Regions from separate parts of the Homo sapiens genome. Here all the other regions are linked to region 3. Evidence: promoter capture Hi-C in human tissues and cell types (Jung and others, 2019). All regions are on one chromosome and are shown on one strand. Each heading gives the region's core, a stretch centred on a gene start or on the middle of the fragment in contact. The rest is flanking DNA. Distances are from core to core; before and after follow the strand shown. Region 1 holds the start of SLC17A9 (solute carrier family 17 member 9). Region 2 overlaps DIDO1 (death inducer-obliterator 1). Region 3 holds the start of SLCO4A1 (solute carrier organic anion transporter family member 4A1). Region 4 has its middle 18 kb from the start of BHLHE23.

What was found. The method cuts DNA at HindIII sites, captures the fragments that hold promoters and counts their contacts. A contact is called where the count stands out against the background at its distance.
Region 1: the fragment with the promoter of SLC17A9 here is called in contact with the fragment with the promoter of SLCO4A1 in region 3 in 3 of the 25 tissues and cell types used here (dorsolateral prefrontal cortex, lymphoblastoid cells and spleen).
Region 2: a fragment that was not itself captured here is called in contact with the fragment with the promoter of SLCO4A1 in region 3 in 2 of the 25 tissues and cell types used here (lymphoblastoid cells and spleen).
Region 4: a contact is called between a fragment that was not itself captured here and the fragment with the promoter of SLCO4A1 in region 3, in 1 of the 25 tissues and cell types used here (lymphoblastoid cells).

What each region holds. Positions count from the first base shown.
Region 1 is chr20:62,950,646-62,954,258 of GRCh38, forward strand. It overlaps SLC17A9 (solute carrier family 17 member 9), which reads left to right and starts at 2,064. Exons shown (of 13, transcript NM_022082.4): 1 at 2,064-2,244. The coding sequence starts at 2,186. RefSeq lists an enhancer at 1,474-2,303 and silencers at 1,855-2,174, 2,185-2,284. The HindIII fragment of the contact is 20,012 bases long and covers 1-3,613 here.
Region 2 is chr20:62,900,265-62,903,547 of GRCh38, forward strand. The region is part of intron 6 of DIDO1 (death inducer-obliterator 1); the gene reads right to left. Among named protein-coding and RNA genes, the nearest start is that of SNORA117, 19 kb to the left of the region's middle. RefSeq lists enhancers at 1-527, 1-106. The HindIII fragment of the contact is 5,054 bases long and covers 1-3,283 here.
Region 3 is chr20:62,640,419-62,643,927 of GRCh38, forward strand. SLCO4A1 (solute carrier organic anion transporter family member 4A1) reads left to right here and starts at 2,085. Exons shown (of 12, transcript NM_016354.4): 1 at 2,085-2,135. It overlaps LOC124904949 (a long non-coding RNA gene), which reads right to left and starts at 1,919. Exons shown (of 2, transcript XR_007067711.1): 1 at 1,235-1,919; 2 at 1-928. RefSeq lists a silencer at 1,573-2,522. The HindIII fragment of the contact is 11,606 bases long and covers 1-3,509 here.
Region 4 is chr20:62,987,112-62,990,549 of GRCh38, forward strand. No RefSeq gene overlaps it. Among named protein-coding and RNA genes, the nearest start is that of BHLHE23, 18 kb to the right of the region's middle. The HindIII fragment of the contact is 8,596 bases long and covers 1-3,438 here.

The sequences.
Region 1 (3,613 bases), core at 814-3,313, 310 kb after region 3:
GTTGACTGGGTTAGCTCAGCCCGAAAGGTGCCCCCACCTTTGAGGCAGTTCCCGCACGTGATGTCCAGTACCGCGGTCTTCCCTCTTGCTGCTGCCTGTCAGTCATGGCAGAGGAAAGTGTCATCTGTCAGTCTCCTTTTCATGGACTCCTCATCTTGAGAATTGTAGTTGGGCTGGAAGGTTGCAGGGCTAAGTGGGGTGCAGGGAGGAGCCCCAGGCCCAGGGCTGGCTTGTCTTGGTTTACAAGAAGCTGTGCGGGGTCTCCTGGGGCGTCTGTGGGGGGTGTGGATGCAGAGGCTGAGCAACGGGCGCCATACGTAGTGAGGTGTGGATTTGCTTTAGGAAAATCTCTAGCATCGTCTCCCTATAGCAGCACTTGAAATAAACAAGAAGTTAGGTGGGCCAGGCCCAACAAGAGGGAGGCACGCAGCCTTCCAGAAGCAGAGGCCAGTGGGTGCTGGCTGTGACTGCCCTGTCCGCAAGGTCACCCTGTGTCCTTGAAAACCCAGGTGTTGACTGTCTATTGTCCCTACATAATTTTTCACCTTAGGCCTCAAAGATGCTTGGGTGCGGGGCAGCTCTCAGAATCCACCAGAAGCGTGGAGAGCCTCCATCTGGCCACTACCAGCACCCAGCTTTATAATGTCCCTGTGAGATGGCCCCTTCACCCACCCAGCCATCCCTGCATGGCCCGTTTCTTCAGCTCATCCAGCCTTCACTCAGGTGTCCAGGGGTGCCTCCTCAGCCCAACCTATTTGAAGTAACACCCCTTCCCTACCCCTTTCACTACTTTGATTTTTGTCTACCTGCCCCAGAACATCAGCTCCAGGAGGAAGGGGACTTTGGGTAACCAGATGGCAAATGTCTGCTGCAGCATGATCACAGATCTCGGTAGGAAATCACCATCACAGAGTGAATGGAAGCGAATCACCTCAAAGAGGGTGCTGTTGACAGCGATACGTTTAGCAACAGTTTCCAAACTTCCTGGCTATGGGCTAGGGCTGTTTGGGGCAATAAACCTCTCTCTGCCACCATCTTTTCACCTACCCTACGTCAGGATGGATGAAAGTATGACCTTGCTTTTCAGGGTGCCCGTGTCTTTCTGTTCAGAGGGCCCTGGGAGCAGGCCCTGCAGTGCAGTGGGTTGGGCTGTTGGAGACCTGAGGGCTAGGGGGAGGGAGGGGGTAAATGTGGGTCTGTTCTAAGTGCAAGGCCCTGCCTTAGACGTGTCTCCCTCGGCCCCTGGGTGGTGGCTGCTGCGTGGAGGATGGACTGAGGTGGGCCCTAGTGGAGGTGGGGGCAACGCCTGAGGAGCAGGCCCTGCCGCCTCCTGGGGAAAGGCTGCATGGTTGAGGCCTTCCCCTGCTGGCTTCATCCTTGGCATGGCAGCAGGAGCACACAGAGTGGGGGCCCCACCCCGTCACCCCTGCCCCCGAGCCCAGAACCTGGCCTGTGATGGGTCCTCAGGACACCTTTTGTCCAGGAACCCAGGGGCCAATGACAACCTTCACAGGCATCTGCTGAGAAGACATGGGCCAGCGCTGGATTTGTCCAGCTCTCCCAGGCTTGGTCCAAGGGCTCAGGAGTGGACCCATCCCTGCCCCGAAAGATCCATTTTAAAAATCAGTGACCCTGTACTTTTACTCTCTTTGCACTTGGTTAAGACTTTATCCCTGATTTTATTTGATCGGTAAGGCAGGGACTGCCATCATTCCCCATTTTATAGACAGAGGACAGACGGCCCCATGGCTCCGTGTCGTGTCCAAGGGATGGGCTGGCACCTCTTGGACCAGGCTTACCACCAGGGCCCTTCTCTGAAGCCCCAGTCTGACCGGCCTGCTGCTGGGAATCCCCCTCTGCCCCCACACTAACCTCTGCTGGGGCTGAGCCAGGGCGCGTCGGACAGTCAGGGCGACCCAGCCAGGGCGACCGTTGGCCCCGCTCCTATGGGGCAGCAGGGACCGACGTCAGCAGGGTGGGGCGGGCACCCGAGTGGTATGCCCCGCCCTGCCCCGCCTGCCCGCCCTGGTGGCCGTCTGGGGGCGACAAGTCCTGAGAGAACCAGACGGAAGCGCGCTGGGACTGACACGTGGACTTGGGCGGTGCTGCCCGGGTGGGTCAGCCTGGGCTGGGAGGCAGCCCCGGGACACAGCTGTGCCCACGCCGTCTGAGCACCCCAAGCCCGATGCAGCCACCCCCAGACGAGGCCCGCAGGGACATGGCCGGGGACACCCAGTGGTCCAGGTGTGGCGGGGGTGAGGGGAGGGGGGGTGGGAGCGGTGGAGATGGGGCCGTGGGGAGGGAGCTGAGATACTGCCACGTGGGACGATGCTAGGTGGGGAGGGCTGAGCTGGGCGGGCTCCTCTGGCTGTGGGGCCCCCTGTGTTCCTTGTGGGAGGTGGAAGGAAGTGAGTGCCCTGTCCTTCCTCCCTGCCATGAGATTCCAGGACCGGACCTGGCAAGTGCCCTATCCCAGCCAGTGTTCCTGGGGCTCTTCCAGGCAGGGCTATGTTCCCCAGGCCAGGGGCATTGTCCTGGACAGTCAGGAGGCATACCCCTCGCCAGGTGGAACCACCCTGTGTATGCATGACCCTGACAAGCAGGCGCCAGGACAGTCAGGAGGCCAGGTAGGGGGCACGGGCTGGAGCCTGCAGCTGGACGGGGTTGGGGGGGGTCCTGCCACCACGTGCCAGCTGTGTGCTGAGGACGAGCTCCCCGCTGGCTTCAGCTCTCGGAGCATTTGGTGGTGGGGAGAAGCAGGGCCTGGGCAGGTCGCCTGGCCACCAGCACTGCTGCCTGTAGGAGGCTCCCTGGGCAGGTGACGCCTCAGAAACCGGGCGAGATGGTGACCGCGGGCCATTGGTCAGCTGGGGAGGGCCTCTGCCAGGGAGCTCCTGAGAGCAGCCCCCACACTGCTGAACCCCTTGGCTCTGGGTCTTGGGCTGAGGCCTTAAGTGGCTGGACCCTGGGCCTAGACTCAGGCCCTGTGGGTTCCAGAGCAGTCTCCTGCCTGCACTGAGTCCCCAGGGTACCTACCCTGACCATGGCAAGGTAATGGCACCTTCTGGCCCCACCAGTTCCCAGCTGTATGAGGGCTGAGGACCCTAGAAGTGCTGGGAAGAGTTGTAGGAAGGCCCAAAGGGGCAGTGCCACCATCGGATGTTGGCACCCAGATGAAGGGAGCGCTGGCTGCATGGGAAAAGCTGGCAGCCCAGATCACAGCCCTGTCAGGCGCCAATTAGAGGGGAGGGCTGCCCTCAGCGGGCCCTGCCCCTTGCTCTCTTCCTCTTCCCCCACCCACGTTCATCCAGGCCTGCCGGGCAGGGCCAGCTCCCCAGGGATTCAGGGCCTCCTCACTGGCGGCTGGTTTGAGTGGCTCCGCCTTCACTACGTCCCTCCCAGGCTCGATGTTTAAAAAGGAGCCCTTGCCGCAGCCTTCACTACGTCCCTCCCAGGCTCGATGTTTAAAAAGGAGCCCTTGCCGCAGCCTTCACTACGTCCCTCCCAGGCTCGATGTTTAAAAAGGAGCCCTTGCCACAGCTCTTCAACTTCCTTTGCAGGCCCTTATTGGGTAGCGCCAAGGATTCTGGAGGGGCCTGTGGGTCAAGGCTGC
Region 2 (3,283 bases), core at 507-3,006, 260 kb after region 3:
CCACTGGCCCAGATGAAACTGTTGCTGCCGGGTCTGGGTTTCAGCCAACTGCAGAATGAAGCAGGTCGTCGTCGTGCACAGGGATCAGCAGCACACTCTAATTGGCCAATTTCCCCCAAAGCAGAAGGCTGGCTGGCTTGGGTGCTACAGCGCCTCTGGCCACTGGGTGGCACCAGGGCCTGAGCAGAGACGGGGAGGAGAAAATCAGGCCCCCACTGGAGGATGGTGCTACTCCGCTCCTCTCTGCAGAACCCATCCAATTGCCCCAGTGGAAGTTTTAGCAGGACAGGGATTAAAATATGGGGCAAGAGACCAAGTCTGCTCAGTTCTGGACTGTCCAGAGGCCCCCATGTAGCAACCTTATGTGCTGGATGGCTCCCCACAGGGAAAGGAACTGGTTATAAAAATCACTAAAATAAACACCACACGCCCTCACGTAGGTGTTGACAATGAAGTGGCCTGCCCTGTCGCGGTACTGCTGGCTGGTTTAGGGAAGCTGGGGCACTCAGACCTCCACTGGTCTCCCACGGTGTCCTGAATCCTGCCTATCACCATCCGCTACAGCTCTAAGGGCTGTTTCTATGCTATGCACCTGAAAACAGACTCAACAGTCAGTGAAGGAACTGTGGAAGTAAATTCTGTTCACTGTGACGTCAGGCCTATTTGCAGCCCTCAGTGAGGCGTGTGTACAACAATGCAGTTTCCTGCTTTACCTGTTTCTTCACTCCAAGATTGCCCCTAGTGGGAACAATCAAGGTGGCAGCGGCAAGAGAAAATGTTCTGCTTTTGCTCCTCTCAACATGCTAGAATGTGTTCACATGAATTCGCCTTTTATAAGTAGTTACTAGTTTGCTTTCATGTTGCGGGGAAACAGTTACTTCCCAAATACAGCAGGCAGACTACATCGCAGACGCTCCTCAGAGGAGACCATCACTACAGCCAGGACGCCCTTGCAGGGTCCACAGCTAGACTGCCGTGTTTTGGAATACTCAAAGCTTTCCTTGGTCAGTTTTCTTACTAATACCCGCTACTTGAGTGCCTTCCAACTTAATGGAGAGGTGTGTAATTCTCCCTAAGAAACTCGTGTGATGAGGGCCACGTGGACAGATGGACGTTCCACTCAACTGCAATTTCAGTTGTGCCCAGCTGCACATGGTGTGTGCCTGGCTGCCAAGCCCATTTGGGAGCAGAGCTGCTGCTCTTCCCAAGATCTCCCACACGAGTAATTTAACCTTTATCTAAGTTGTTTACTACTTAAACCAACATGTTAGGGGCATGTTAAAATTAGTCCACAACCCTCCCCTGTAATCCCTCCAGTCCTAAAGGGCCATACTCAGTATAAAGCCCCTAGCTGACAGCACCAAGCAGGTCAGTTGAGGATAAAGCCAGTTACCTTAAGCTCTTCTTGCCGAACTCTTCCAGGTTTGCGGCAAATGAAAGTTGCCGCAACCTTCATTTAAATAAGTAGCAAAAATTCTTGTCAATATTCTAAGTTACTTCTCTAACTTTTAGAAGCTAAGAATATAACTATGTGTATGTTGATGTGTTAACAGAAAAAAAAAAAAAAAAACCTAGTATTATTTTACAACTTTATACAAATCTACCTGAAACTTGTGTACCACATTGGAGGAATTGTAGCAGGCGTCTTCAGAGCTGACCTCTGCACTCTGTGACACCGAGAATGCCGAGGAGGCTTTCCCGAGTATTCATCTTTAGACTATGAGTAGATCCACAGCTCCGAAAGGTCCTATGAAGGTCACTGAAGAGGTGGTGAATTCAGGGGGACCGATCCTGCTGGAAACTTCCATCCCTGCACCCCACCTGCCCAAGGTGGCTGAAGCATAAGCACAAAGGGGCACCTGAGGGATGGACAGGGGCACCACGGGACGGTGCTGATGTGGGACTTCACCGTGCAGGGTCACGGTTACGGAGGTGTGAAACCTTTCCCTGATGTAATTTTCTCAATGGCAGGCTGCTTTTTAAGTTTATAAAAAGTAAAACACTTAAAAATAACAAAAGAATGTCATTACTGACAGCCAAGAAACTTCCAGTTATATGGATAACGTAAAAAAACAACTATCAAGCTATATTCTTTCTCAGAACAAATTCTGATTTTTCTAATTGGGAGGAAGAGATTGGTGGACACGTAGAGTCTGATGACTCCCAGTCTCGTTTTATTGCCGCTGACAACTCTGGAGGAGACAGATAAAAAAAGAGCTCACGCGACCAGTGAAACAAGCCACCCTCCTCTCCCGGCTTTAAATTCCTGCAAAACACTCTTAGGTTCTAGAATCCCCCCATGTATTTTTTATTAATGAAAACTGAGACTGGGTCCTCTTAGGATTTCAGTGAAATGTGCTTCTGGAGCCCACACCATGAGTTATCCTTGTGAACGGTGTTCTCCGTCCATTTCACCCCACCAGGGCCATCTCTGTGGCAGCACGTGGGAACAAGAGGCAGTGCTTCCACCTGGGCACCATGCTTAACACAGCATCTGGATTTGGGTTTACAAACTGGCAACGTTTTCCATTTTAATTCCAACGGTTAGATGAAACGAACTGTAGAATCTGCTTTGCAGTCAAAATCTGTTCAGATCCTCAGTGTTTAAGTCACTTAATGAGCCATTTAGGGAGACAAAATACTAGAAATTGCACCTATCAAATACCATCTCAAAATTTTGAGAATTCCATCTCAAAATTCTAGTCAGTCAGGTACATCTCAGAAAAACATTTCCAACTGACTTCATGCCTCGACAATAATGGGAGGTGAACAGTGGAAATAAAGAGAAAAAAATGGAATAAGAATTTATAAAACCACAAAAGAAACATCATGATCTTTGAGAGAAGTTATGTGCACCAAATGTTTACGTAAGCTAAATAAACTGTATATATAAGAAACAATTTTTAAAAACAAATGGGAGGAACAAGGTGAGGCTGTGAAGGACCTACTGATATCTTAGCAGGGGGCACAGCCTCCTTCTAGCAATGGCAGAGTGTCTGTGCACACCAGGCCTCACCTGTTGGACAGGAACCCCCAGGTCAACCGAGTGCCATGGGAAGGACAGGAGGGTGCCTAGGTGCACTGTGGGGAGCAGCAGCGGTAGCTCCACCACGTGGGTCTTCTGATGGTATGTGTGGTGAGGCAAGTGTGAGTCAGCTCATGGGACAGACCCACACCAGCCTCTCACTTCCAAACTCACCCCCTACCAGGGAGGGCGAGCTCCGTGGCCAGCCAGGGAGGCAGGGCAGGGGCCTCAAAGGCATACAGTGGTGGCAGGCTCCCC
Region 3 (3,509 bases), core at 835-3,334:
GGGTCAAGGCCTCCTGGTGCTCCTAGGGGCCTCTTGAGGAGCCTGGGCACCAGCATTTGCCTTTGAGGACAGGACTGAGGGCCTGCATTTTGCACGAATGTACCTGAAATGTTTGCTCTGGATTTACCTTTCCAATGGTGCCTATGCAGGAATCCCAAAGAATGCCTGGTGGGGTCTGAGGCGGGTCTCAGGCCGGGAGCCCTCCACAGGCAGCAATATTTGGCTAGAATTTAATGCCATTTTGTTTCTTTTTATCTATTTTTATGGTGACCTCTTTGTGGTAATTGACACTGACTTTTTAAAAAATAAACTTACCCTTTTAATCAAATGTGTGAATTGTTTAAAGGAAAAACATTGTGTAAATAATGTTTTCAGGGGGTAGAATCCAGACGTGAGTTTTGGAAACAGAGTCCAGTCCTGCTTCTGACATTTGAATTGCTTCTCCAGCATCATCACCAGAAGATGGGCTACCTGTGCTCACAAGCCTCCTGTAACACGGAGCTCACCACCTCTCAAAGGCACCTTCTGTCAGGTCTGCCTGGAAATGCTGCTCCCGCAGACTCCGCACCTGAGGCCAGGTCTGCAGCGAAGCTCATCCACACCTGAGGCCAGGTCTGCAGCGAAGCTCAGCCCCCTTCCTTCACAGGAGAAATACTTCTGGGTGTGCACCTTCCACTCCTGGCAGGGCCGTGAGCCCCTGTGGCAGTGCCTCACCCTCTGGGAGGGACCCTCTCCATCTGGGAACAATGTGGGTACTTTTTTCTCTTAAAGGGCAGTGTCAGGAATGAAAGCAGATACCCAAAAGCAGTGGGTCTCGTGGCCTCGTGTCTGCTTCCAGAAGTGGAGGGCGGCCTGGGACGGCGGGAGCCCTGAGGACACCACCGGGGGGGTCCCGGGACCTGATACGAGTGGGCAGGAGCCCCAAGCCCTGGAGGAAGGAAAACCATTTCATAAATAACTGCATGGGGTTGTGGGCCTTTTCTCACAAGCCGCAGCACCTCCTTCGTCTCTCCACGGTGAACCCGCCCGCCACGCTATGCCACCAGGCCAGGTCCTGCAGCACCGCCTCCGTGGCTAGGACTTCCTCACCAGCCTGGGGCCGTGAGGTGGTCATTTCCCCCCTTACCTGACTTATCTCAGGATTCACACACACACACTTGACTTTCGGAAACTTCTTTTAAATTAATTTCACTGACACTAAAAGGGAAGCTTTGTGGAGTGTGATTGTGGTTACCTGTTAATACTTGGCAACAATTATGAGCCCTGATATGAGCCAACTTCTTCCGTCTTATCCCCTTTGAGGACGCTCTGTTATCGCCCCCATTTTGCAAACGAGGAAACTGAGGCTCGGAGGCCTGGAGCAATGTGTTCCAGGACAGACGGCAGGAAGCCGGGGTAGGAATTCCAACAGGGAGTTCCCTCTGTGGAAGGGAACGTGGCTGGCACCTCCCTGCCTTCCACCCTCAGAGCTAGTGTGAAAAAGAAGACGGGGTTATGGAAAAGGCAACGGGCTGGAGATTCCCCGGATTCCCAGGCTAGGGCGCCGGTCTCACTGTGCGCGCAGGTGGGGCGCGTGCCAGAACAGGGCCTGGGGGTCAGGCCGAGACCGGCGGGCACCTTCACCAGGGCCGCCCGTGGCGTTCCCCCAGCCCCTCTGCCGCGGGCCCCACGTGGCCCCGACCCTGCGGCAGCCTTTCGGAAGGGCGGAGCTGAAAAACGGCCGCTTGGCTCCACTCGGCCCCACAGCGCCCAGGAGCGAATCCCGAGTCCGTTCGGAACCGCCTCGCCGCGTGGCCTGGGGCGGCGTCGCCACCGCGCGTTCTCGGCCTCCCGGCTGCGGCAGCGATGCCGGTCCTTGGAGCTGGAGCGGGGAGTCCAGGAGGCGGCAGCGCTCCGGAGAGAGACGCCCTGGTCCCCCGCCGCGCGTTCCCGCCTCTGTGCCCTGGGGGGGAGGAGGGGGCGGTCGCCGCTGCCATTGGCCGTGGGGGGTGAGGCGGGCCCCGCGCAGGAAACCCCGCCCCTCCCTCTGCGGCGGGGGCGGCCCCAGCGGATGAATGAAGCGGCGCGTGGCTGCCGGGGAGGCCAGAGCGTGGAGCGCTGCGCGGCGCGGCGGCCGGGCCCTCGAGACGGGGACGGTGAGTGCGCGGGGAGCGGGGAGCTGGCGCGGGTGCACAGGGCCCGACCTGCTGGCGTAGGAGCGCGGCAGGTGCCGCCATCGTGGGCAGGGGCTGGAGCGCCGGGGGGATGCGCGCGGGGGCGGGAGGCCTGGGCACCGGCCGAGCGCCCCGAGCCTCTCCGCGGGGGAGGGCAGGACCGAGCGGAATCGGAGGCCAAATTCGCCGCTTCCCGCCGCCGGCTGCGCAGGTAGGAGCTCCCGAGTCGCCCGCAGGAGGACCGAGGCGAAGGGGCCCCACGCTGCAGCGGGTGCCGGGGGGAAGCGGGTGAGCAGGGGCTGCGGCCCTGGCAGGGACTGTCGGAGTGGCCGGGGCAGGTGACCTGGGCAGGTGGCCCGGAGCGCGCGCAGGCGCAGGCCCCACAGATCCAGCTGGGGACGAACGCGCCTCCGCGGAGCTCCAGAGTTGCGGAGTCACCCACCTGCGGCGGCCGCTGCTGCCGAGTCAAGGAGGAAACCTTCATGCACGGAAGTTTCTCGGGGGCGGCCGGGCTTTGTTCGCGCCAGAGGCGCTCGAGACATCTCCGGGAGGGGAGCGCGGGCGGAGCGCACAGGGCTAGTTTCCAGCAGCGGCGGCGCCCCTTTCCCTGCCCCACCACGCGACGTCCTGGCCGTGGCTTGGGGGGACCCGGGCGCCCTCCAGGTGCAGGCAGAGGGTCGGGTGCCCTCGCGTTGCTGTTGGGCTCCCCTGACCAGGGAGGATGGAAAGGAAGGAGCAGGCAGGCTTAGCTGCCCTAGACCGGCCCTAGACCGGGAACCTGGAAGCAGATCTGACTTCCACTTCCAAGGGAGAAACCGCCTCCCGCACTGGCGCCCCGAGGGGAGAGAGAAGCCCAGCTAGGTTTCCGCGTGGTCCGCGTGGTTGGTGAACCCTCAGGCTGGGGGGTGCCCCGCTTGGCGTGCAAGGCCCTCTTTGGAGCTGCCGTGGGACCTGGCTATGCGTCCTGTTTCTGTCTGGAGGCGGCTGGAACGCGGTAGTTTTCCACATCCATGCAACCAGCTTGTCAGCTGCTGCTCCTCAGCTGTGGTTTTTGGAACTTGGGTTACCTCCATCTAATCAGAAACTGGCTCTGCAGAGCCCGGTGTCAGCGACGTTTTCATTCCCAGCAGCGGGAGCAAATGGATCTCAGAGGACAGCTCCTTGGCCTTAGCCGGCTCCGCTTGTGAATCTGGTAATAATGACAAGGACAGTGACAGCAGGGGTTAGGTGTTGAGTGCTGGAATGTGCCGGGCATGGTACCCCTGCTTTGAGCATCGTCTCATTCAGTCCCTAGCAACCCCACGAGGTGGCCATTATCACTCCCACTTTATAGATGAGTAAACTGAGGCACCAAGA
Region 4 (3,438 bases), core at 768-3,267, 350 kb after region 3:
CTGGCCCCTGCCTTGCAGGGATGCCCCAGTCTCCTATCCCAGCCTGCACCCTCCTGGGGGCCACGCCAGCATGGTGGGGCGAGAGGGTTCTGCAGAGAGAGCCTGGGGGCACGTTTGGGATCTTAGCCCTCTAGTGCCCTTCCATTTTCTACTGGGGCAAGGAGCGTGAGGCTCCAGCATCCCCTCCAGAACGTTCTTGTGGAAGCTCCGCTTTGTTTCAGAACAATGGAAGCTTAACATAAATATGCAGAGGAAATGTGACGTCACAGTTTTTATTGGGACCTGGAATCACTCCTGTGATAGAGTCATTACCTGGGTTAAGCTCATTAAGTTAATTAACGTGAGCGTTATTATTGCTGATAAAAGATAGTCTCAGGGGATTGGTAGAGCCAGCGTAGCATGCAGGGGTGGGCACAGGGGGGATGGGGATGGGGGACTCAGCAGAGACAGCTGGGGGACCCGGGGACCCCTGCTAAAGCTGCAAAACACAATCACATTCTCACACCCGGGCTGCCCCCACCCTGAGGACACGGGTGAACACGGAGCTCGGGGGACACGACCATCCAGCGTCATGAAAGCCAGGCGTGCGAGCCAACTACTTGTACCTGCAGGACAGGAACAGTGAGGATAGAGCGATGGGCACAGACCTCACCCCGAGGACAGAGGTCATTGTCACCAAAGACCCCCGAGAGAGGACGGCGATTGGTCTTGAAGGGTCGATGATGGACATTCCTTCGTATGTGGCCCCTCTTTTGGGATGTTCGCTTCTAACTCCAGAGCTCGGAGACTCATCTGAAGGTTGAATTTAGACCCCATCATTATTTTTACATGTGTGGAAGGATCTTTGGGTGGTTTTCTTTATATTTTATATTATTTTATTTTATTCTATTTTATTTTTTTGAAACTGAGTCTCCCTTTGTTGCCCAGGCTGGAGTGCAGTGACACCATCTCATCTCACTGCAACCTCCACCTCTCAGGTTCAAGTGATTCTCTTGCCTCAGCCTCCTGAGTAGCTGGGACTACAGGTGTGCGCCACCACGCCTAGCTACTTTTTGTATTTTTTAGTAGAGACGGGGTTTCACCATGTTGGCCAGGCTGGTCTCCAACTCCCGGTCTCAAGTTATCCTCCTACCTGGGCCTCCCAAAGTGCTGGGATTACAGGCATGAGCCACTGTACCCAGCCTTGGTGGTTTTCTTTAAATCCTTGTCAGTGAACTATCTGAGTGTGGTGGTTTTAAAATGTCCCCCATTTTTGTGGACAATCCTCCCTCAAAAGCAGGTTTTCTTAAGTGTGAGCCAGACTTAGCAACTGGCTTCTCATGAATAAAATGTGGTGGAAGGGGCCGGGTGCGGTGGCTCATGCCTGTAATCCCAGCACTTTGGGAGGCCAAGGTGGGAAGATCACCGGAGGTCAGGAGTTGGAGACCAGCTTGGCCAACATGGTGAAACCTTGTCTCTACTAAAAATTCAAAAATATTAGTTGGACATGGTGGCGCATGCCTGTAATCCCCGCTACTTGGGAGGCTGAGACAGGAGAATCACTTGAACCTGGGAGGCGGAGGTTGCAGTGAGCCGAGATCGCACCACTGCACTCCAGCCTGGGTGACAGAGCGAGACTCCATCTCAAAAAAAAAAAAAGAAAAACAAAGAAGTGGTGGAAGGGACAGTGTGACTTCCAAGGTGAGGCGCTGCCCGCTTTGGGAGTCCACGTGGCGAGGAACAGAGGCCGCCTGCCTGCAGCCGCGGAAACCCTCCTAGAAGTGGATCCTTCAGATGAGCCATGGCCAGCCCCTCGACAGCAACCTCCTGGGAAAAACGTCCAGCTAAGCCACACCCCAACTGGAAGTGGGTCCTTCAGATGACCGGAGCCACGGCCAGCACCTCAACAGCAACCTCCTGTGAAAACCACCCAGCTAAGCTGCACCCCAATTCCTGTTCCTCCAATACTGTGGTCAGAGGGGCTCAAAGCAGAATGAGTCCATCTTGAGTAGGGAGTGGGTAAAATGAGGCTCAGACCTGCTGTGCTGCACTCCCAGGGGTGAGGCATTCGGAGTCACAGGATGAGATTGGAGGTCGGCAGGACTGGTATCACAAGATGCAGGTCATAAAGACCCTGCTGGTAAACAGGATGTGGTAGAGATGCCGGCCAAAACGACCAAAACCAAGACGGTGAGAAGAGTGGCCTCTGCTCACCCGCCCTGCTCATTACACACTAATTATAATAGGTTAGCGGCTAAAAGACGCTCCTGCTAGTGCCATGGCAGTTTACAGATGCCACGGCAACATCAGGAAGTTACGCTATATGGTCCAAAAAGGGGAGGAACCCTCAGTTCTGGGAATTGCCCACCCCTTTCCCAGAGAACTCATCAATAATCCACCCCTTGCTTAGCATATAATCAAGAAATACGTGTAAGTGACCTTAGTCAGCAGCCCATGCGGTGGCTCTGCCTATGGAGTCCCCGTTCTTTTGTTCTTTTACTTTCCTAATTTACTTTCACTTTATGGACTCGCCGCAAATTCTTTCTTGCATGAGACCCAAAAACCCTTTCTTGGGGTCTGGATCGGGACCCCTTTCCCTGCTCGTCTTCTCTGCATCAGCCCAGACCCCACACCTGTTTCCTGGCGTGGACATGGAGGACTGAGGCCATCCTCCCAGCCACTGACACACGCCCCTTCTGGGGTGGCCCGGCTGGCATTGCCTTCTCCTAACGTTCCCGGGGTGGCCCGGCTGGCATTGCCTTCTCCTAACGTTCCCGGGGTGGCCCGGCTGGCATTGCCTTCTCCTAACGTTCCCGGGGTGGCCCGGCTGGCATTGCCTTCTCCTAACGTTCCCGGGGTGGCCCGGCTGGCATTGCCTTCTCCTAACGTTCCCGGGGTGGCCCGGCTGGCATTGCCTTCTCCTAACGTTCCCGGGGTGGCCCGGCTGGCATTGCCTTCTCCTAATGTTCCCGGGGTGGCCCGGCTGGCATTGCCTTCTCCTAACGTTCCCGGGGTGGCCCGGCTGGCATTGCCTTCTCCTAACGTTCCCGGGGTGGCCCGGCTGGCATTGCCTTCTCCTAACGTTCCCGGGGTGGCCCGGCTGGCATTGCCTTCTCCTAACGTTCCTGGGGTGGCCCGGCTGGCATTGCCTTCTCCTAACGTTCCTGGGGTGGCCTCCAAGGTGCTTGTGACTTTCAGGAGAGCCCAGCAAGGCCACCCTCCGTGCTCCTTGGTCTGAGCATCCTGAGGTGGAGGGTGCATGACCTTCTGTTCAAGAATGCAAATGCCTGGACCAGGAGAGCGTCGGTGTGTGCCAGAGAGCCGCCTCCCTGCATACTTTCCACCCCAGGCAGGGGCTGCCTCTATGGGGCCAGCCGGGAGACTTGCCTGCAGCTGCCTTGGGCCCTGAGTTCCGGCTCCTCCGAAAGCAGCAGGAGGCCCTGGGTCTCCTTCACCCGC